Regions from separate parts of the Homo sapiens genome. Here region 2 is linked to region 1. Evidence: promoter capture Hi-C in 16 types of primary human blood cells and fetal thymus (Javierre and others, 2016). All regions are on one chromosome and are shown on one strand. Each heading gives the region's core, a stretch centred on a gene start or on the middle of the fragment in contact. The rest is flanking DNA. Distances are from core to core; before and after follow the strand shown. Region 1 holds the start of MRPL22 (mitochondrial ribosomal protein L22). Region 2 overlaps SPDL1 (spindle apparatus coiled-coil protein 1).

Region 1 (5,484 bases), core at 505-3,004:
AAGGATAAATGGTTACAGGAAAGTAAACAGTTCCAGGTGCAGGGGCTTTAAGACTATTTATTACAAGGTGATAGACTGGGGGCTTTGGGTGCTATCAATCAGACGAATTCCTGGGAATTGCGGATATTGCTCGCCACAGTATCTTATCAGTTAATTGCATCTTGGATGTGCTGGGAGTCAGCTTGCACAAGTTAAGTTCTTGAGGAAGGGGCTGCCAGTGAAAGAGCCAAGATGGAGTCTGTCTGGCTCTCTTAGCTAAGCAAGAGTCAATTCAAGTGGAAACAAGGCTAGGTGATCAGAGGAAAAAGGGAGAGTCTAAAAACAGGGTTAGTAAAAACAAGGTTGGGCATTACAATATGGAGTCCGGGAGACAGGCTGGTGTGAGCTGTGATCGAGCCACTGCACTCAAGCCTGGGCAATAGAGTGAGACCCTGTCTCAAAAAAACAAAACAAACAAAAATATGAAAGTACGAATCTGGAATTAAAAAGGGAAAGAACAGTTTCTGCAACTGGGTGGAAATTCTGGCTCTGGGTTCTGGGTACTCAAAGATGAAGGAGAAGCAAATGGAGTGACTCTTGATTTGCTTGATTGAGGGCCAGCTGTGTGAAGGAAGCTGTATGTGGTAAATGGTGTGGAAGAAAGTTTCCTTTCAACTCAAAAATGCTAAAATGCTCAGATTCTGCACTACTCGTGTGTTGCTTGTTTGCATTGGGTATCTGACATTCCTGCATAGGTAGCAAACCGCAATCTGAACTACCTGTTATTCTAATACAGAGGGGTCAAATACATATATTTGAAGGCGTCTAGGGGCACAAATTTGGAGGCACCTAGTCGTAGATTGATCACTGGTTTGCCAGTTGTTAGTTGAGAGACTTTAACATATCCTAAATATGTTTCCTCATTTGAAGAAGGAAAATGATAATCCATGCCTTGTTGGATTGCTGTGAGGAATAAATGAGATTTAGTGAAATACCTGCCTGACATAAGGCAGTAAATGCCAGATGAATATAAACTCATTCTTGAAGGTCAACCAGATTAGTAGGGATTAGGACAGCATACATCATATTTGAACTATTTGCTCTTTAAAAGAGATTTTAGGCTAGGTTTCGTGGCTCATACCTCTAATCCTAGCACTTTGGGAGGCCGAGGAGGGCAGATTGCTTGAGCCCAGGAATTCGAGATCAGCCTGGGCAATTTGGGGAAACTCCTTATCTATAAAAAATACAAAAATTAGCCGGGCGTGGTGATGTGCGCCTGTAGTCACAGCTACTTGGGAGGCTGAGGTAAGAGGGTGGCTTGAGCCCGGGGTCGAGGCTGCAGTGAGACTAGGTCATTGCTACCACACTCCAGCCTAAGCGAGAGAGAGACCCTGTTTCAATAAAATGAAATAAAATAGCTTTCACACTATTTCAACTGATCTTTACAACAAGCTTGTGCCCTAAGGTTAGTCATTTCTGATAAGAAAACTGAGGACCACCGGATTAGGTGGCTTGTTCACGGATTCTGTTCCCCTACTCCTTTCTAGTTTGTGAGTTGGGACTTTAGTTTTTCTGAATCCAGGTGAATTTTCGGAAGCCCACGTGCTTTCGGCCTTTATTAATTAATTCATTCCCAAGCCAGGTTCGCCTGACCACACCTCGAGCGCCGGCCCAGTGCTTGCGATCTTCGTGACGGCACCTGGGGTGTAAGTACTGCTTGTGGGAGAGCCCCACAGGAAATCCAGAGTATTGCGCATGCGTGCTGTCCAGAAGGCGCTTGAACTCGGCGGCTTCCGTAGCGGGAGGGCGAAAGATGGCGGCGGCAGTACTGGGACAGTTGGGTAAGGATTTCTTAGTGGTTAAGCGACAGAAGGGAGTCGAGATGGAATCTGAGTTGACGGCTTGTGTTGATGTTGCAGGTGCGTTATGGATACATAACCTGAGGAGCCGGGGGAAGCTGGCCTTGGGGTGAGTCTCTCGCTTCGGAGTTTCGGAAGGGCCCAAGGCATCTTTAGTATTCTGCCAGTTGGTAACTGAGCGCCTCCGTGCCTAACTGTGTTTTAGGCTCTGGGGTTACTGAGGCGAATGAGACAGCCCGAGTCTCTGCTTTGTCACTCTATTTTTTCTCCACCTTATTGCATAAACTGTACAGGGATCAGGATTACCCATAACCCAAGGGCGATTGTAAATGCGATTTCCGAACGTCTACTGTGATCTTTCTGGACAAGGTTAGACTATTCCATCTCCATATGGAAGCGTCCAACTTTTCAAGTTACCTCTCTGATTACTTGCTTACATGGGCAGGGACCGTGTTGTGGACAACTCTGCTTTACGTCGTACCTGACATTGTGTTTAGCGGTTTATATGCTTTAACTCACTCTCATAACATTCTACGAGTAGGTTCTGCTATACCCGTTTTTCAGACAAGGAAATTGAAGTCCCCAAACGTAAAATAACTTGCCTAAGGCCACTCAGTTGTAGGAAATTTTGAAGCTTTATACCAGAGCATTCTGTAGCCTTAGGACAAAAGCATTCATTAAAGGTTAGGGTAAGTAGTCGCTGTATTTCTCCCCAAAATAAAAAATCGGTATTTGAAAATTGATAATCTGATTGTAAATTTTCTGGTCTGTCCATTTGTTAGCATTGATTTTGGTTTAGTTCATAGGCTTTGCAGACAGATGAGTTGTATATGAATCCATTTTTTAACTGTGATCTTGGAAAAGTTACTTATTCTTAATAAGCTTCAGTTATCACTTTTATGATATGAGCGTTATGTTAGTACCTATCTCTTAGGATTTAAAAAATTTTTTAATTTTTATTTATTTATTTTTTTAGATGAAGTGTTGCTATGTTGCCCATGCTGGTCTCAAACTTAAGGGCTGAAACAATTCTCTTGCCTCAGCCTCCTGAAGTACTGGGATTACAGGCACATGCCATCTATGTAGCTCTAGTAGATTTTAAAAAGGAAATTCAAACAAGATAATGCATATGAAGTATTTAGTATGTTTATGGCATGTGATAATCCCACTCTGAATTCTAGTTGCCATTAATGTTTTTATTATTATAAATTATTACTGAGTTCCCAATTATATTTAACCCTTTTCTAAGTTTTTGGGTCCGAGGGGGATAAAGAGGTGGGCTAAAGAAGAAAATAGGAAGTAGTAGCTCTTAGGATTTGTCTGTACTCTTCTTAGATAATCTTCTATCACTCTTCCCCCAACCATGCTGATTTACTTACTTTTTCTGAATATACTTTGCACTTACTTGCTTCTTGGCTTTTCCTACTATGCCCTCACATCTTGTCTATAACAGCAGTCCTACCCATTATTCAAACCTCTGTTCAGATGTTTTCCCTTCAGGAAGTTTTCACTGGTTTCTCTAAAACGGAAAGAAATTAGTTTTTCCTTCCTTTTAGCATGTGTGCCTTCTATGATGACTTCATGTATATGTGTATGTGCCCTTTACTAGCTTGTGTATCTTGGAGAAGTAGGGACATTTATTTATTGTTGTACCTCCAGCATAAGGTCTTACACAGGCAAGTATTTTGATGTTGATTTGAATTGTCTTGCACCAACTTGTATTAAGAAGCTCTGAGCAAGAAACTTAAGCAGTTTGCCTTTAGTCTTTTCCTCTATGTCATGATACAAGAGTGTTTGATTTTGCTAGATAATCTCTAAGGCTATTTGCAATTCTGAAGTTATTACATAATTTTGTGAATCCTTATTTTGGATTTTCTAGTGGGGAAAATGACCATAAGAAAACTAAGTAGAAAGGTATAAATAATGTTCATGATAACCATGTAAAATTTTAGCATATAATCTGATTCAGTGATGAGAAACTTTTTTTTCCTTTTTTTTTTGGAGACACGGTCTCGCTCTGTGCCTAGGCTGAAGTGCAGTGCTGTGATCATAGCTCACTGCAGCCTCAAACTCCCGGGCTCCCACCTCAGCTTCCTAAGTAGCTAGAACTACAGGTGCATGCCATCACACCTGGCTAATTTTTAGGGTCTTGCTGTGTTGCTCAGGCTGGTCTCTAACTCCTGGGCTCAAGTGATCCTCCTGCCTTGGCCTGGAGGGATTACAGGCATGAGCCGCCAGGAAACTTAATTGCATATAGGCCCCAGACTAGAAATAAATAAACTAAGGGAAGTTGTCTATGTAAAATGAGAGTGGGAGGGCCTGTGGTGGTCAGTAGAGTGTATTCCTCATCTAAAAACATTGAATTAGGTTAAGAAAACTGCTGCTGACCAAATAAAACATTTCTGCAGGATATATATATATATACACACATATATGCACATATATACATATATACACATATATATACATATATACACATACATACATGTATATACACACACATATATATATAGATATTAAAATTTTTTTTTTTTTAAAGACAGCGTTTTGCTGTGTCACCCAGGCTGGAGTGCGGTATCATGATCATAGCTCACTGCAGCCTCGATTCAAGCCATCTTCCCAACTCAGCCTCCCAAGCAGCTGGGATCACAGGCGTGCACTACTACACCTGACTTTTTTTTGAGTTTTAGTAGAGACAAAGTCCTGTTATATTGCCCGGCTGGTCTGAAACTCCTGGGCTTAAGTAATCTCCCACCTCAGTCTCCCAAAGTGCTGGGATTACTCTGTAGGCTATATTTGTTAGCTGACTGACAGTTTTCAGTTTTTGAATTCCAAGTCTCCTATTTTACTGATGCATACATTTGAGAAGTTTTGTGACTTACTGAAGGTTACACAGTTAAATGTCAAAGTGAGGATCTAAACAAAATATTTTCTGGGACTACAGGTGCAGGCCGCCATACCTGGCTAAGTTTTGTATTTTTAGTAGAGATGGGGTTTCACCATGTTGGCCAAGCTGGTCTCAAACTCCTAGGCTCAAACGATCCGCCCGCTTTGGCCTCCCAAAGTGCTGGGATTACAGGCATGAGCCACCACGCCCAGCCAAAAAAATATTTTTTTTTAGGAGACAGAGTCTCACTATGTTGTACAGGCTGGTCTCGCACTCTTGGGCTCAAGTGATCTTCCCACCTCAGGCTCCCGAGTCTCTGGGATTACAGACGTGAGCCACCAAGCCTGTCTGTACCACCCTTTAGATGGGGGCATATCCTCTTAAGCTTTCCTCAGTTTCCAACCATGTGTAAAATTTTGGCATAGTTATTTACACTCAGTCCTCTTACCTTACCTGTCTCTGTATTCTTTCATTGATTCTACAAATATGTATTTAGTGCCTGCTCTGAGCTGGGAACTATTCTAGCACTGAGGATTTTGCAGGGAACAGGAACAGACAATAATCCCTTGCCATTGTGGGGTGTACAATATAGTAAGGGGGGCAAATAAGCAAAATAAGTAAAATATAGAGTATATTAGATAGTGACATCTGCTTATGAGAAAATAAAGCAGAGATTGAGAATAAGAAGTATGTGTGTTTGAGAGAGGAACTTGTAGTTTTAGATAGGGAAGGCCTCACTAAAAGATAATCTTTGAGTAA
Region 2 (5,579 bases), core at 1-2,500, about 15 Mb after region 1:
CTCCCTGGGCTTCTTCCTGCCTTAAGGATTCCCCTCTTGCTGGAACATTCTTCTTCTAAATAGCTGCCTGGCTGATTCTCTCATCTTCTGCCTCCTGGTTACATCACCTGTCCCTTCTTCCCAGATTCTTATTCTGTTCTATTTTTTCTCATCTCCCCTTTCTAATTTATTAATATTCTGTTACTTACTGTTTATCTTCCCCTCCTGGAATGTAAGTTTCATGAGGGAGGAGCTTTTTTTTCGTCCATTTTGTTCCCTAATGAATCTGAACTGCCCAGAATGGAACCTAGTATATAAGGCATTCAAGAAATACTCGTTCAGTGAATGACTACATTGACTTGAGACATGGGGGAACATCTTGCAATGACCTGGTGCCCTTTGAAGGCAAAGGTGAGTTTGAGTCTCGCTTAGGAGGCTGGGACCAAATAGTAAAGGATAATTAGTAAGGTTGATTAAAGTGGAATGTTTCTATATATAATGTTTAAGTCTTTGTTTATAAATCTAGAATGAAAGCAACATCCTTTAATTCTTATGGATATGGTTTCTATTTTTGCATACTTTTATGAATAACTAGAAAAATACTAGTGAATCTCTTTCCAGGAAAGCAGATTTAATATATTCAGGAAGTTAACACTGTTGTGAAAAATTACAGACATGATATTTCTTACTTTACCTTATGAGCCTTATTCACAGCTGCCTTTTTATATTTTATGTGTTTATAGTACCCAGACCTTCCTTTTCTGGTGGTATTATTGTTATTATCATTATTATTTCTCAAGACAGTGTCTTGCTCTGTCAGTGCCATGATCATAACTCACTGAAGCCTCTAACTCCATCAATTTTCCTTCCTTAGCCTCCCAAGTAGCTAGGACTACGGGGGCTTGCCACCATCCCCACCTTATTTCTATTGATTGATTGATTGAGATGGAGTCTTGCTATGTTGTTCAGGCTGGTCTCGAATTCCTGGCCTCAAGTAATCCTCCCCAGTTGCTGGGATTACAAGCATGAGCCACCATACCTGCTACTATGAGGTTTCTTGATTACTTTTTTGTTATTCCCTTAATTTTGATTATATGGATAGTGGTCCAATTATGAGACCAAACTTACCTTAACATATTGGAAGCTTAGCATACAACAACTGAACAGTTTTCTGATGGTGAACTGTTTAGAAGCAAAATTAAATGTATTCTATTCCACTCTTTAATTTTTGATCCCAAATCAGTAACAGAATTGTCAGAACAGTTCTTGCTCTTGGAACAAGAATGCAAATTTGACTACTTATTAGTCAGGAAGAAAATTTTAATGTTTTTATACGACAGTAGTATTGAGTAGATATGTTTCTTCTGTTATTGATATTATTGCATGGAGTTTTTTGTATAAGCTTAAGTAGTTTTATTTCCTCTATTTACAGTTGGCTAAAAAAAAGAAAAGAACATGGAGGCAGATATAATCACAAATCTTCGATGCAGGCTCAAAGAGGCTGAAGAAGAGCGACTAAAAGCTGCACAGTATGGTTTACAACTAGTAGAGAGTCAAAATGAATTACAGAATCAATTGGATAAATGTCGTAATGAAATGATGACCATGACTGAGGTAGGACTCTGGACTCCTCTGTCTGCAAGAGTGTGCTTAGCTATTGAAGATTTGTCCTGTTTAGCAATTAATAGTAGTAGTAGTTTATTCTTTTCTGAAGATTTTAGATCTAGTTCCCGCCCTGCCCCGTCCCTGTTAAAAAAGAATGAACTAAATGAATTCCTGTTATTCTTTCCACCCTAGTGTATTCAGAGTTTGAAAGATCAAGTTATCATTACTCTCTTTGCCACATTTACTACCAGATTTTGCTTTGTCTGCACACTTCCTAGAAGACCTCACTTGTTTTAGACCTCTAAACATCTAAGTGCCCCATGACACTACACCAAGCCCTTAGTTCCCCCATGAAATCTAGGTTTGTGTTCAACTGCCCACTAATAGACTTCTCAAACTTAACACAGACAGAAGAGTGGATTCCCTGTCCGTTAACCAAATATTCTTTTACGATTTTTTTTAGCTTATTTAGTAAATATAATAGCATTCAGTTTCTTGAACACCAAAAATCTTTATATACCAAAGATTTTTGGTATATTTTTGGTTTCTTTATATACCAAAAATCTAGAACTTTTAGTCAATATCTTCCCTTTATTTCTCACATTTCACTCATTAATAAGTTCTAAGAACTAGACTACAAAGCATGTATCTTTGCTACTGGCACTGTAGTCCAGATCACCATCATCACTCCTAGACAAGTATTGTAGCCTTCTGGCCGGGTTGCCTGCTTCCATTGTTGCCATTCATGCCATTCATTCTTCACTCAGCGTCTAAGTGGTCGTGGAATAACACACCAAAGGTCATGCCACAGCCCTGCTAAAAACCATACAACAGCTTCTGATTTTATTTACAACAAAATCTGAGCTCCATCCTTGGGTTTGTAGATCCCTATGTGACCTGACCCCTGCCAAGCTTCTGACCTCACCTCAAACTGCTTTGCCTTGTTCTTGACTATACTGGTCCTCCCTTATGGGCTTTACACCAGCTATTGCCTTTTTTTTTTTTTTGAGTTGTTTACCCCTCACTGCTCTTGGGTTGAGTCCTCAGATTTCAGCTTTCATTTAAATGTCACTTCAGCGGAGAGGTCAGCCCTTACTATGTAATGTAAAGTTGCCCTGATTCACTTTTTTTTTCTTTTTTCTTTTTTTTTTTTGAAACAGGGTCTCACTCTGTCGCCCAGGCTGGAGTGCAGTGGCGCAATCTTGGCTCACTGCATCCTCCACCTCCTGGGTTCAAGAGATTCTCCTACCTCAGCCTTCCGAGTAGCTCGGGGTTACAGATGTGTGCCACCACATCCGGCTAATTTTTGTGTTTTTAGTAGAGATGGGGTTTCACCATGTTGACCAGGCTGGTCTTGAACTCCTGGCTTCACGTAATCTGCCTGCCGAAGTGCTGGGATTACAGGCATGAGCCGTTGTGCCCGGCCCTGATTCCACTCTTAATTATCTGCATTGCTAATTATCTCTAGATTATAAACTCCATGAGAGAGGGAATTTTGTATGCCTTGTTCACTATCCTGAATGCCTGCCACACGATTATTTCTTAAAAGAATGAATGAATAAATCTGGGTAATTTAGCAAATGCTCAGTAACATATTTAAACTTGAATCTCAACATTGTAAATATGGCAGGTAAAAAATATCTGTAGCAGGTAAAAATAACTAGTGATGGCAACCTTTGTGTTTCTACATAGTACTGTTGTAAACCAAGAACTGAGTGCAAAGTCATAAAGGCAAAGTAAAGATTACAAATATCACTAATAGAAAATAAAACTGTTATACTTAATCATTTTGAGTCATAACTTGTCAAATTTCAGTGTTTAACAGTTAATACTCTTTGTCTTCCTTTAAAATAAAATGGTTTTTGAGGGGAATATTTTATCATTTTTTAAAGCCTCTTGAAGGAGTTCGTACTTGTAACATTTTTAATGTCTAAACTTCCCTGTGAGTAAGCAAAAGCCCTTTTAATTACTCCTTTTGTCTCAGCTCTGCATTCATTCTGATAGACCTTTTGTGACATTTCTCAGATGACTACATTCTGAAAGTAAAGGCTAATTCAGTATTTCTTTTTTTTCAACTATTATTACTACTACATTGTGTTCAGAGCTACAAGTAGAGCATCTCATTATCAAACTAATAATTCTCATGAGGAAAGCTTAAGTGCTGTTAAATCTTTTTTTGTTGTTAGCAGAGATTACTTGACTTGACGTGTTGACATACCATGGAGCACATTTTACTTCCTTGACAAGGCACAGAAGCAGTAAGGTATCCCTTGCATGGGTTTAACATAGTTTCGAAATACACCTCAGGGGTTTATTAAGACTGATTAACTACAAAGTTATTCCAGGTTTAACATGTCTTCGTTATTTGGAAAGCAGCAAATGCTTGAAATAAGAATGAAACAATTGAAGTTGAAAACTGATTGTATGTAATGGCTTTAGGCTATTTTTATGTAATTGAATTGTAATTGAATCTGTTTTCAGAGTTATGAACAAGAAAAATATACCCTTCAAAGAGAAGTTGAACTCAAGAGTCGAATGTTAGAAAGTTTGAGCTGCGAATGTGAAGCTATTAAACAACAACAAAAAATGCACCTGGAGAAATTGGAAGAACAACTAAGCAGAAGCCATGGACAGGAAGTGAATGAACTAAAAACTAAGGTTGGGATATCTGCGTATTTCAGCACAAAATATTCCATATTTATGCAGCCATCTGTAAACTTTAGATGATAAAGATTTTCTTAAGTGTCAGCTTTGCAAAATAGCCAAGATCTAAGTCTTCATTATCTTAATATTGGGGGTGGGAACACTGAGATACAAGAGTTTGTCTAAGGGACTTGTATAAATTATATCCTATTAATTAAATACAATTATTTAATTTTGGTTGCTGGATATTTGTGAAGGTTTAGTTTAGTGACTAGCATGGCCTCCTTGCTGATAGTGGGTACAGCAGCCCCTTGCAGAAAGCCTCGTCTCCTAGCCTTCCCTGCAGTCAGTGGTATGCTTTGTAATTCTGTAAAACAGACCAGTAGTTTCTTACTAGTTAATGTGCATTACAAATGACACTTTATAGTTTGTTTACTGAGGATAAACTAATACATGTGCTCCAGTTCTTACAATAATATTGTGGAAAGGTACCATTATCATTTCCATATACCAGATGAAAGAGCCAGTGTTTAGACAGACTGAGTAAATTGGACACAATTCAAGAACTAGAAATTCTCCATCTAGGTTTGAACTGAGGCTGTCTGACTCCAAAGGCTGTGTTACTGAATCACTACATAGTCTAACAGCATGTTACACTGGCTCCATTTCAAACATAAACGCAAGATAAATGATTGGTCAGTGGTTTTCCCTTTTCCCAGCTAGCCAGTGCTTTCAGGTTGCTTCTGAGGAATCCAGAACTTTTTATCATGGATCTGCTTTGTGTATAGTCTATACTCTGACTTTTCCAGACACTGTCTACCAAAACTTGCCTGACTTTTGTCCTCCTTTCTCAGAAGTCTGTTACCCAATTTTCAGCTTCTTGTATAGCAGCCTCTAAGATTTTTCTTTTTCTGTATACCACCTATACTATTACTTAATTTCTCATTGACTCTCTTTTAATGTTTACTGATTTTAAGAAACATCAATGAAAGTATTTTTTTTTCCTTTTTTTTTTTTTTTTTTTTGAGGCAGAGTCTCACACTGTCGCCCAGGCTGGAGTGCAGTGGCATGATCTCGGCTCACCTGCAACCTCTGCCTCCCGGGTTCAAACGATTCTCCTGCCTCAGGCTCCTAAGTGGCTGGGATTACAGGTGTGCGCCACCACGCCCAGCTAATTTTTGTATTTTAATAGAGACAGGGTTTCACCATGTTGGTCAGGCTGGTCTCTAACTCCTGACCTCGTGATCCGCCCACTTCAGCCTCGCAAAGTGCTGGGATTACAGGCCTGAGCCACTGCGCCTGGCCAAAATTACATATTTAAGCTTGCTTATTTTTTCCCAGTATACACTAAA

Evidence for each region. The method cuts DNA at HindIII sites, captures the fragments that hold promoters and counts their contacts. A CHiCAGO score of 5 or more calls a contact.
Region 2: a fragment that was not itself captured here is called in contact with the fragment with the promoter of MRPL22 in region 1 in 1 of 17 cell types (fetal thymus); the score reaches 5.5 in fetal thymus.

Annotation. Positions count from the first base shown.
Region 1 is chr5:154,939,319-154,944,802 of GRCh38, forward strand. It overlaps MRPL22 (mitochondrial ribosomal protein L22), which reads left to right and starts at 1,755. Exons shown (of 7, transcript NM_014180.4): 1 at 1,755-1,820; 2 at 1,899-1,947. The coding sequence starts at 1,793. RefSeq lists an enhancer at 1,695-1,854. The HindIII fragment of the contact is 1,041 bases long and covers 1,430-2,470 here.
Region 2 is chr5:169,586,983-169,592,561 of GRCh38, forward strand. SPDL1 (spindle apparatus coiled-coil protein 1) reads left to right here. Exons shown (of 12, transcript NM_017785.5): 2 at 1,412-1,593; 3 at 4,066-4,242. The coding sequence starts at 1,435. Among named protein-coding and RNA genes, the nearest start is that of SPDL1, 6.0 kb to the left of the region's middle. The HindIII fragment of the contact is 258 bases long and covers 1,122-1,379 here.